3 separate regions of the Homo sapiens genome follow, and regions 1 and 2 are each linked to region 3. Evidence: promoter capture Hi-C in 16 types of primary human blood cells and fetal thymus (Javierre and others, 2016). All regions are on one chromosome and are shown on one strand. Each heading gives the region's core, a stretch centred on a gene start or on the middle of the fragment in contact. The rest is flanking DNA. Distances are from core to core; before and after follow the strand shown. Region 1 overlaps CES2 (carboxylesterase 2). Region 2 holds the start of LOC107984821 (a long non-coding RNA gene). Region 3 holds the start of ELMO3 (engulfment and cell motility 3).

Region 1 (3,626 bases), core at 48-2,547, 260 kb after region 3:
AGCCAGCATGGAACCATCATACAAGGAAGCCATGCCAAAAACAAGCGCACCACCGTGGATCCACACCATCACCTGGGGAAATCAAGGCAGCTACCATGATGCTCCCACCCAGCCCAAACCCCACCAGGGCCACTACCTAGACCAACCAGTGCTTTGCCTCTGTCTACCTCCCCATTAGATCTCCAGCACAAATTCATTACATGGGCAAATGGTTAGGCACCCAAGATCTATCAGGAAGACCAGGCCTCCCAATCTTTGCAATCGAACCCCCTGTATCAAAGCCTGGGTTCATTAACCCCAGATAATTCACCAAAGTGGAAAGAAAAGGGGTGTCTCCCTGATGGCTCCACATGAACATTAACCAAAAATGTCCTTAGCCTGAACCACATAGTGAGACCCCGTTTCAACAGAAAATGTTTTAAAAATGAGCCAGGCATGGTGGAATAGGCCAGTAGTCCCAGCTACTCGGGAGGCTAATCTGAGAGGATCATCCCGGATTTCGAGGTTACAGAGAGGTATGTTCATGCCACTGCATTTTAGCCTGGGCAACAGAGCATGATGCCATCTCTAAGAAAAAAAGTTTTTGTGTGTGCCCATTCTATAGGCCCAACAGATTATCCATGGCTGGGGTTCTTGGTCACCTCAAGGTGCAGCCCTTTGGCACTTAAGTGGATCTCCTGGCATGAGTTGGCTGAGTGAGTCCTGGGTCCAGCCCAGAGCCACAGCCTTTGACCTCTGGGAGCAGCCAGAACTCTGTGACCCCATGTCCAGGGGCCAGCTGCCCAGTCTGGGTAAGGAGCATTTCTTGGACCTGACAGTGAGAAGCTTCTCAGCATGGTCCACTCTGAAGCAGGGCCTGAGCTAATATTGTCCTTTTCAGCTTCTTGCAGAAGAACTGTCCTCCAACCCCCAGTGAACTGTGGCCTGACACCCACCGGCAGGTTAGAGCCTTCATGGCTATGGGCCGGCGTGTAGATGCTGAGGTACAGGCAGTCCTCAGACATGGAGTCGGAAGGGAAGGTCATGTTGAACTGGCTAAGAAACTCTGACTCCACTGCGGTGAGGTCCTGTAGACACCTGGTAACCAGGGCAAATAATCAGTCCAGGGGCCAGGCTGTGGCCAAAACCAGACCCTGGGTTCAGAGGTGCTCCCAGCCACCCTCAGACCCTTCCCACAATATCCTGCTCACACATGATCCCTCTCAAAAATCCCTTCCCACCAAGTTACAGGCCACAGGCTCTGGGGAAGCTGGGATGCAGCTTGGACTTCCAGGGAGGCCTCGAGGTTACTGAGGACCTTGGGTATCATTCCTCGCACTGCCGGAAACCTTGACTCTTAGGGGTTTCTATGAGAACCATTGGCTGCATGTGTTGACATTCACCACTATATTCCTGTAACCCGTAAGGCCTGGGACAGGGGAGTAGCCCACATATGTGTGCTACATGAGTGAATGGATGTTAATTTCTCATGAGAAGGGCAGTGGGATGTCTCTCATCCCAAGTCTAAACTCTCAAAAACTCATCATTCCTACATGGCCTCCAGTTGGAAACATATACATATACATATACATGTCTCTTGGCCAATGGCTCCTGGTCCTGTCAGTGGACACAGTGCCTGTGGAGAGTGCAGGTCCCCAGAAAGCTACCACTACTGTTCTCTTCAGGTATTTGCAACATCTGCCACTAGAGTTAGGGGCTCCTACAAGGTTCATAGAGCCAACCCGAACCTTTCCCAGAGACACCTGCCACTGGTGGCAGAGAAAGCTTGGCATAACCAGAATCTGGGGAGATACGTGTGTCTGCCCCTCCCTTCGGCACCTGGAGCCAATGTCTTCTGAATGCCAAGCCCTGATCCAGGAGTCTGAGAAGTTATTCTGCCCTCCTGAGCCTCAGCATGCTCATTGGAAAAATGCACGTGGGAATCCACGAAACTCAGAAGGAAAACTGGCTGTGGGGGTTTAGATGAAATGATAACTGCAGCCTAGCTGAGCTCAGAGCACCCCCACCCCTGCCCCAGGGCCTGGAGTTCCCTGGACCCCTTGGAGAGCTTACATGGCCGGATGGGTGGTTCCATCCCTCACACCACTCCAAGATTCAGGGGGCTCAGGGGGTGCAAATCGCAGCGGACCTAGAGGTGGCTTGGCAAATGGAATTCCCAGGAAGGTTTGGACCCCGGCATTGGCGCCCTTCACATGGACAAGACTCCCCAGCACCTGCCCCGTGTGTGTGGTCCGGATGGGACTGGCTGAGTCCTGGCCTGTGGGCAGAGAGACAGACATCACGGTTGGGTTTGACCAATCGACTGCCCTCCCAACTGTTGGTATTGCTGCTTCCTTGCCATCCTCATCTTAGCTCAAGGGACTCTGATCTGTAAACATGGGCTTTACAAACTTCCTGCCTGTAACACTCCCTTCCCGCTCTGGCTTCCTGGGCCTGTCTCCATCCCACCAGGCTGAGGCTCCTTGGGGCCAGGCATCATCATTCAGCCCTAGGACCTTCAAACAAAGGGTCACATGCCCTTGATGGGACTAGAGTGTCCTTCAACTGTGTGCCAGGTCATGTGACAGTAGGATGATGGTGGGAATTGGGCAGGCAAGTTTCTTGTCCTCAGGGATGTCATGTCCAAAGTGGCAAGAAATCATGTAAAGAAAGCATCATCCAAACCATGAGTGATGTTGGTGAAAAGAGGTGCAAGAGAAAAGTATGGCTGTGGCTGGGATATAAAAAGCACAGTGACTGGCCTGGGGACCATAGTGGGACTCTGTCTCTGCAAAAAAATCAGGAAATAAATTGGCGGGGTGTGGTGGTGCATGCCTGTAGTCCCAGCTGTAGAAAAGCCTGGCTCCAGAAAGTGGGTGAGTTTATGACTGTTTAGATGAAAATCAAGGACAAGTGCACACATCTATTCTTGTGTAAACTGCTGGGCACTGTGTGTACTGCGGTGTCAACAAGCAGTTTCCAGTGTGGGCCATGGGGACTTTGATGGCCCCTGAGGAGAAGCCAGGACTGGTTGGGTAAAAAGAGGATGGCACACATCACCTGTACCCTCCTATGGCTTGTCAATTATTTTTTCTGAATGTGGGTCCAACCCAAAATTTTGTATACATATATATTTGTCAGACAAGGTCGCCATCTGTTGCCCAGGCTGGAATGCAGTAATATGATAACAGCTCACTGCAGCCTCCACCTCCTGGGCTTGAGATCCTCCCGCCACAGCCTCCTGAGTAGCTTGGAGTACAGCTGTCTGCCACCATGCTTGACTTTTTTTTTTTTTTTTTTTGGTAGAGACAAGTCTTGTTGCCCAAGCTGGTCTCTAACTCCTAGCCTCAAGTGATCCTCCCATCTCTGCCTCTCAAAGTGCTGGGATAACAGGTGTGAGCCACTGTGCCTGGCCCAAAATATTTTAAAAGGTAGCCATCTGTGAGGCCAGGCAGATCTTCCTGCTGGGCTCCTGGTGAACTCTAGAATGTGGTCAAGGGCAGGCACGGGAGGAAGCCCTGCAGCAGTGCACCATGGGGCGGGGGGAGTATGGACTCCACCTGCGCAAATTAAATTGGGGAAGGGTTGGAAGAGACAGATCATACACTTAGGAGAGTTTCGGGTGAGAGGACCAAAGGCCGAAACAC
Region 2 (3,688 bases), core at 990-3,489, 300 kb after region 3:
TCGGGCCTCCAGGCCCCGGACCACTCTTGGTTGTCACTGCTGGAGCTGACCGCCAGGTCCACAAGCCCCTTCTCCACAGACAAGGGCCCAGGTTCCTTGGGCATCTGGGGACATAAAACTCTCCTGTATCCTCAGCCCCATTCTGCAGAGGAAGGTGGCCAGGTGCGGTGGCTCATGCCTGTAATCCTGGCACTTTGGGAGGCCAGGGTGAGAGGATTGCTTGAAGCCAGGAGTTCAAGGCCAGCCTAGGCAACAAAGTGAAACTCTGTCTCTACATAAACAGAAAGAGAGAAAGGTGAGGATCAGAGAGGGGGTGTGGCTTATCCTGGGTCGCAGAGGAAGAGAGACACAAAGCTGATTGGTCTCTAGGCTTGGCAGTGGGCCAGTGAATGCCTGTAGAGATTAATGCTAGTGAGGCAGGCTTCATTCTGTAGGCAGGGCCTCGCCCCTGCTAGAGCAAGGTGGGGGCCAACCAATAGCTCTATGGGTAGAAGAGCATGTGTTGTGCTTATCCATGCGATGTGTTCCCAGGAAAACTGCTTCACCTCTCAGAGCCTTGGCTTACTTGGTGATACAAGTTTTTGTCGTTAGGAAAACTACATGAGATAATCCCTGCACAATGCATTTAGCACAGTGCCAGGCACTGCAGGGCTCAGTAAATGTGACTTTCCCCAGTGCATGGATTGTTGAGGGACCTACATCCCCGCACTTACACACACTCCCTAGAGGTCCCAAGAGGCCCAGGCTTTTGGGAGGGAGTTTGGAGAGGGGCCCCAGCTCCAGCCCCAAAGCAAGAGTGCAAGACACCCCTTCCAGCCCCAGCTCCCTTCCAGTGCCCAGGTGCTCTTAGGGTCTGTGATGTCCAGGGTCTCACAGGGTTCTGGGCTGGAGCTGGAGGGGGTTGAGGGGTGGGCCCCAGCAGAGGCCTCATGCTCCCCTTCTCCCAGGCCCCTTCCAGAGGCACTGGGCCAGATCAAAGGGACCCAGCACGGAGGATCAGGAGGCAGCTTGGAAAGAATGTAAACATGAGGATATTTTTAAACTTTTTCCAGCCCCAGCGATTAGGGCTCTTGAAGCCGGAGGCCCAGAGGTCAGTCTGGCCCTCACCCACAAAGAAAGCAACAGTCTCGGGCCCTCAGAGACCCCACCCCACCCACATCTACCTACACCCACCCAGGACTCTAGCTGGGGCCTCGGGGCAGAAGTTCTTCCTAGGGTGTCACCTCCAGACACACTGCTGCGGCGGGAGGATGCGTTTCTAATGTGAGGGCCTCAGCGGCATGGGACCCTGACTTAAGGGGTGGTGGGGGCCTACCAGACAGGGCTGATGTTGGAAGACTGAGCTTGGGAGGCTTCTTAGTGGCCCAGTCACTCTACCAGGCGTGTGTGCACACGTGTGTCTGTGGGTGTATAAGTATATGCTGCAGTCTGGTCTGTGTGATGCACGCATCGGAATGTGTGAGTGTGCGAGGAGCTTGCCTCGGCCCACCCTTCCTCGTTCTTCCCTAGCATCCCTGACCTCCTCCCTGGGACCCCTTTGGTAGGTGGGTGACATGGGGGGGGTACAAAAGAGGAAGAGTCGCCTGAGAACAGGGAGGACGCGAGGAGAGAAAGGCGCCAGAGCCGGGGGCGAGGAGGCTGGGGGTACCAGGTCCGGGGCCATGCAATGAGTCAGGCTGTGAGAGCTGCAGGAGTCACTGATGTGGGGACTGGGACTCGGCTCCCTCCATCACCCCCATGTGTCACAGTTGGAGATGAGGCTCCCTGGATCTCCCGATTCCGGTGTCACAACTACGCTCACCATGGGTTCCATGACAACAGCCTCTTACCTTGTAGTCACGCAGCTACCCTCACACCCTCACAGGAGTGTCACAGGACTCATGCAGGGCCCCCCCAACACCACCCAGTGGTCGTATCCCAGTGACCCCTATCTGTGAGACATGAGGACCCTCACTGTCTTCACATCCCCACTGACCAGAAAGCCAGAATTCACAGGGGCACTCAGAAGCCAGACTAGACTGTGGTCACCAGGACAACGGGGTACCCAGCCCCTGGAGAGGCCTCGGCTGGCTATCTCATTCTCCAGGGGCTGCTGTGCCACCTTGCCCTGCTTGTGGGCCCTGAGAGGGACAATGTCCAGCTCCATGTCATACAGCTCCCCAGTGAAGGGCAGGGCTCAGGCCCCAGCTCAGGATCAATGTGGCGATGGCATCCCCTCCAGATTCCCCCTGCTGAGGCAGCAGCCACAAGGGATGAGGCTTGGAGTTTTACCCTAAGATGTGGTAGGATTTTGGGCCCAGGATGATGGGGGAGCTAGGTGGGGCTGGAACTGATGGAAAGGGGAACCTGGAGACTCATCCTCAGTCTGAGGCTGAGGCTGGACACCTAAAGACATGGTTTGTGTCCCTGTGGGTGCCCACTCACTGGGGCTGTTGCTATTCTTATCCACCTCCCAGTGGCGGTGGCAGTGGTAGTGGCAGTAGGGTCAGAGATAGCTGCTACGTGGGAGAGAGTCATGAGCACCAGCCCTTTATCTGACACATTCCCTGGAAACTTGGCAGGGCCTGCCAGCCTCTGGGGGCCTGGGCGGGGCAGGGCGTGAGGTGGTCACAGGGATAGGATGAGGGGGCTGGGCTGGGCTCAGTGCCGATGAGGACCCGCTCCAGCTGCCTCTCCCACAGCCAGGCAAGGTCCCCTCAGAATTGGCCTGGGGGGTTCTAGTGAGATTTCTTCCCATGCGGAGACTAAGACCACAGGTCACCCTCAGCTCCTACTCACCCTCAGTCCAACCCAGAACACCCCACCGTTGGCCCCATCTCTGAGCTTTGGGCACTCCAGAGAACAATGTATTGGCTTCCTCAGTGATGTGGCTTCTTCCACGGGAGAGCACTGAACTGTGAGCCACAGTGGCCCCATCTGGTGGCTGTCCTGCCTACTTCCCAGCCTCGTGATCTTGGGCAAGTCAATTCCCATCTCTGAGCCTCAATTTCCTCATCCCTCTCCTGGGCTGTGGTGGAGATGACAGGGTCCAGTGGTCAGGAAGCAGGCTGACGGCTGCAAAATGTGAGTGTGTGTGCACGTGAGCACTTGGGTGGGGGGGCCAGAGTGGGGAGAGGGAGGCATATGGGTCTCCCACTTTGGGAGACTCCCGCCCTATGGATTTTCCACTGGCATGTCGGCACCCTCTCCCCTAAAATAGGCTCTACGAGCCGTGTGCGACAGAGCCCAGACTGAGGGGCCTTTTTTTAGCTGGCCTTTGATTGTCAGCTCTCGAGCAGCTGCTATTTTGAGCCCCAACGCCTAGAGGAGTAGGGCCAAGTGGGGGCTGAGGTTAGCTCAGTGGGCCTGGCTGGCTCCCCGAAGGCATCCCCAAGGGGGCTGGCCATCCCATCTCACACCCTGCATTGCTGGCAAGGAGAGCACGACATCTCCTATAGATGGGGCCTAAGGGCTCCTCTGTCTACCTCTGCGGAAGCTGCAGACCTGGCAGAAAACAACCACATTTACAGAGCACACCCCACAGGCCACTGCCCACCCACCCCCACCCAGAGAAGAGCATGCTGTGGGGATTAACTGAGATAATACAAGCAAAGCCCTTACTTAGCACAGAGGCTGGCACATAATTGGCTCTCAAAAAATGGAACAGCTTCTGTTATTATTGTCATTACAGCTGCAGTCATTCTTGGTT
Region 3 (3,316 bases), core at 176-2,675:
CCCACCTTCCTCACAAAGGGGATGCTCAGAGTCTCCCAGGACACCACGCCGTGCTCCATGAGCTCTGAGAAGGCCCTCAGGCTGAGGGCCAGCACCTCTCCTAGGCTGGAGGGGGGACATCTGGGGCTGAGCAGGACCACCCCAGGACCAGAAAGACCCACCATCTCCCCCAGCCCACACATCCCTGTGCTCACTCGTCCCCATCTTCAATGATGGTGCCTAGTATCTGGAGCCCATTACGGCTGATGACCTCCCTGGCAAAGATCATGTCCGAGGCCAGCGGAACAAGGCGCCTCAGGGCTTCCCGGCGCCCTTCAGGACTGTTACTCTGCAGCCCACCCAAGAGCTGCTCAGCCTCAAGGTCCTGGCAGGAACGGAGCAGGAGCAGAGGTGAAGAGGCTGGGCATGGTAAGGGTGGGACCTGGAAGTGTGCGGCCCCGGGCGTCAACTAGGTGGCGCAAGGCAGGGCTGGGGCGGGGGCCTCCGGGGCGGGGGGCCTCTGGACCTGGAGCAAAGGGGCAGGGATGGGGAAGGCGGGACGGGAGGGGCATTACTGGGGCCGTGCTGAGGCACAGGATGCTGCCATTCTTGATCTCCGCGCGGTTCTGGAGAAGACAGCAGAAAAGGCAGCGAGGTCAGGGAGGGCTCCGAGGACTGATCAACTGGGGTGTCGGTGAGGGCGGCTGGGGGTGAATAACAGATCGCGCTCCGGTAGTGGGATGAAGAGCCAGAGTTATCGGGGCCAGGTGGGTTAGAGGGGTCGGAAGGCCGAGCTTGGGGCTGGGGAGAGGGGACTCACATTCTCGGTGATGTATCTCCGGTGCCCATCCGCAAACTGCAGGGCGTAACGCTCAGAGTGCGTCAGGCTCCACCTGAGGGGCACGAGGCTCAGCGAGGCCGGCAGGGGGCGCCGCCCCTCCTGCCCTCCCGCCCTCCGCAGGCCCTGGCCCGGCAGCACTCACGCGTCGCACACCTCCTTCAGCACAGCGGCCAGGGGCTTCGCCTGCAAGTGGAGTGGTCATTCTCGCGGCCTGGGCAGGGAGGGATGGGGAGGAGCCTGGGGGGAGGGGTGGGGCGGGCTGCCCCGAGGGCCAGGGGGCTACCGGGAGGTGGGGCAGTGGGGCAGATGGAGGCGGGACCAGCCGGGTGACCTGGTCCAGCTGGATGAGCTGCGGGATGGCGTCACGCATCTTGATGGCAATCTTCACCACGTTCCGCGGAGGCGCCATGGTCCAGCTGGGACGTGGGCGCCTGCACTTTCCGGAGACCGTGCACCTGCGGCCAAGGGTGCACCTGGCCTGGGGCCCCTGGGGACGAGGAGGTCCTCCCTTTCCGAGACCTGACCTCGGTGTCCCGCACTCGCGGCCCAGACTGCTGCTCCTGGCCATGCAACGCGGCCTTCCCAAGGGAGCCGAGGTTAGTTCCGGGTTGGAGTCTGGGGGTAGGAAGGTAGGACGGCTCCGCCTGCCCCGCCCCGCCGAGGCGGCCCCGCCCCACACCAAGGTGCGGCAGGTGGGGGCGGGGAGGGCAGGCTGCCGGAGGCCGCCCCACCCCTAGTTCCAGCAAGGTGACCCACCCAATCACACTGCCAGTCCAGCACAGTCCCAAGGAGGGTCCCCAAAGAACCACATCAGAGCTAGCCTTAGGCATGGTTTTTATTCACTTGAACACTGTACAAATATTACAATTTCCTTTTGCTGCAAAAAGTATAAAAATAATCTTTATATAGGAATCCATTCGTTACTGTAAATCTTTCTAAATCTCTGCAAATGGCTCTAAATGAGGGTAAATGAAAAAGCCGAAATGAAGAGAGGGTTATGGGGCAGCAGGAGGTGGGGCCAATCATCAGGGCTGGACCACCCAGACTCCTCCCCAGAGACCTCTGTTCCTTCTTGGTAGCCGCCCCCACCACCTGCAGGTTCTAGGGCTAAAGGCCCAGCAGAAGTGGGCACGTGAGAGGGCCAGGAGGAGCTGGAGGGTCAGGGGGTGGGGGATAGCGAAGGAAGCTAGAAGTGGTGCTGGCATGTGCCCAGTTCCACCCCACCCTTCCCTCCTAGGGGAAGGAGCTGGCAGAAGCAAGACACTGAGGCTGGCAGGAACAAGACACTGCCCCCTATGGGGGGTAATGGCAGCTCCTCGGTTCTGTGCCACTGGGTGGCAGCCGAGCCTGGGCTGGCGAAGGCCGCAGAAAGGGAGAAGCAAACACTTTGGCTCCACGGTGATGGGGGCTGAGTCCTGTTCCCCTGCTCTGCGAGCACAGAAGTGCCAGCACAGGAGCGGGAGCTGTGGCCAGAACTGTGCGGTGAGGGGAGGCCGGAGAAGCCAGGCGTCTGTGGCTCTCAAGCTCTGTAGGGGTCGGGTGGGAGAGGTCCCCAGGCAACCCCCAGGTCAGACAGTCTGGGTCCCAGCCACACAGGGCATGTCCCTGTCAGTCAGAGGTTGAGAACAGGCACATCAAAGAGGTCACAGACACCTTCACTCTCGTCCAGGTTGTAGATATAATCGTGGTCTCCCGGGGGTGGAGAAAGACGAAGCAGAGGGGCAAACACTGCAGAGAGCACTAGTCTCAGGCCCTGGGCCAGGGCTCCCCTAGCAGCAGCCCAACCCCTGCCCACACCCACTCCCACCTTCCAGGGCCACCCACCTTCTGAGGACATCAACTCCTCCAGCAGCTCCGAGCTCATGCACTCTGGGAATGGAGGGAGCTCAGTTACTAACATTCCAGCTCCCACCTCTCCACCCACCAAAGCCCAGGAAAGGGAACCCCACCTGCCCATCAGGAACTTCACCCTTTGCCCCAGTTACCATAAGCGCCACAACAAGGTCCTCAAAAGGGCAAGAAAACAGCCATAGGACCCAATGAGCTGTGTCCCTTACCCCTAGCCTCAGGGAGGAATGCAGCAGCCTACCTCGTGTGGGATCAAAGATTTCTGACAGCTCTTTGGGGAGTTCCAAAACTGAAAAACAAGAAAGCCATGCTCAGGGCACAGAGGTCCAGCCTGGCCCCACTACAGCCCCCTGGCTTCCTCGGATCCTATACCACCCACCCTGAGGCTCCACACAGCTAAGGAGATGTAGGTCCTGCCTAGGCCAAGCTGGCACTGTCTGTTGGCCTCACTTGCTAAACCTGAATTCCTCAGTGCTGAGCCCAGGGTACCAAAGGCCCCCTGCAAGCGATTGGTACAGCTTTTCTAACTCGGAAAGGCCACAGAAGCCTCTTTCTGGGCTCAGCATGCACCCCCTGTCTGACAGAAGGTACCCCATCTGTCCCACCCTTGCTGAGCACCTGCTCTGTGCAAGACTGAGACCAGACCCT

The links. Contacts are between HindIII fragments. The CHiCAGO score rates a contact against its expected background, and 5 or more counts as called.
Region 1: a contact is called between a fragment that was not itself captured here and the fragment with the promoter of ELMO3 in region 3, in 15 of 17 cell types (M1 macrophages, M0 macrophages, erythroblasts and 12 more). The highest score is 11.8, in M1 macrophages.
Region 2: a fragment that was not itself captured here is called in contact with the fragment with the promoter of ELMO3 in region 3 in 1 of 17 cell types (M1 macrophages); the score reaches 5.0 in M1 macrophages.

The regions. Positions count from the first base shown.
Region 1 is chr16:66,936,668-66,940,293 of GRCh38, reverse strand. CES2 (carboxylesterase 2) reads right to left here. Exons shown (of 12, transcript NM_001365405.1): 2 at 2,053-2,257; 3 at 936-1,077; 4 at 1-72. Among named protein-coding and RNA genes, the nearest start is that of CES2, 3.0 kb to the right of the region's middle. The HindIII fragment of the contact is 939 bases long and covers 828-1,766 here.
Region 2 is chr16:66,902,666-66,906,353 of GRCh38, reverse strand. It overlaps LOC107984821 (a long non-coding RNA gene), which reads left to right and starts at 1,094. Exons shown (of 3, transcript XR_001752244.2): 1 at 1,094-1,263. RefSeq lists an enhancer at 697-3,181. The HindIII fragment of the contact is 9,071 bases long and covers 1-3,688 here.
Region 3 is chr16:67,197,240-67,200,555 of GRCh38, reverse strand. ELMO3 (engulfment and cell motility 3) reads right to left here and starts at 1,425. Exons shown (of 20, transcript NM_024712.5): 1 at 1,152-1,425; 2 at 963-1,003; 3 at 800-872; 4 at 555-605; 5 at 195-364; 6 at 6-105. The coding sequence starts at 1,229. E2F4 (E2F transcription factor 4) reads right to left here. Exons shown (of 10, transcript NM_001950.4): 8 at 2,910-2,957; 9 at 2,645-2,689; 10 at 1,638-2,548. The coding sequence ends at 2,433. RefSeq lists a silencer at 2,030-2,089. The HindIII fragment of the contact is 7,654 bases long and covers 1-3,316 here.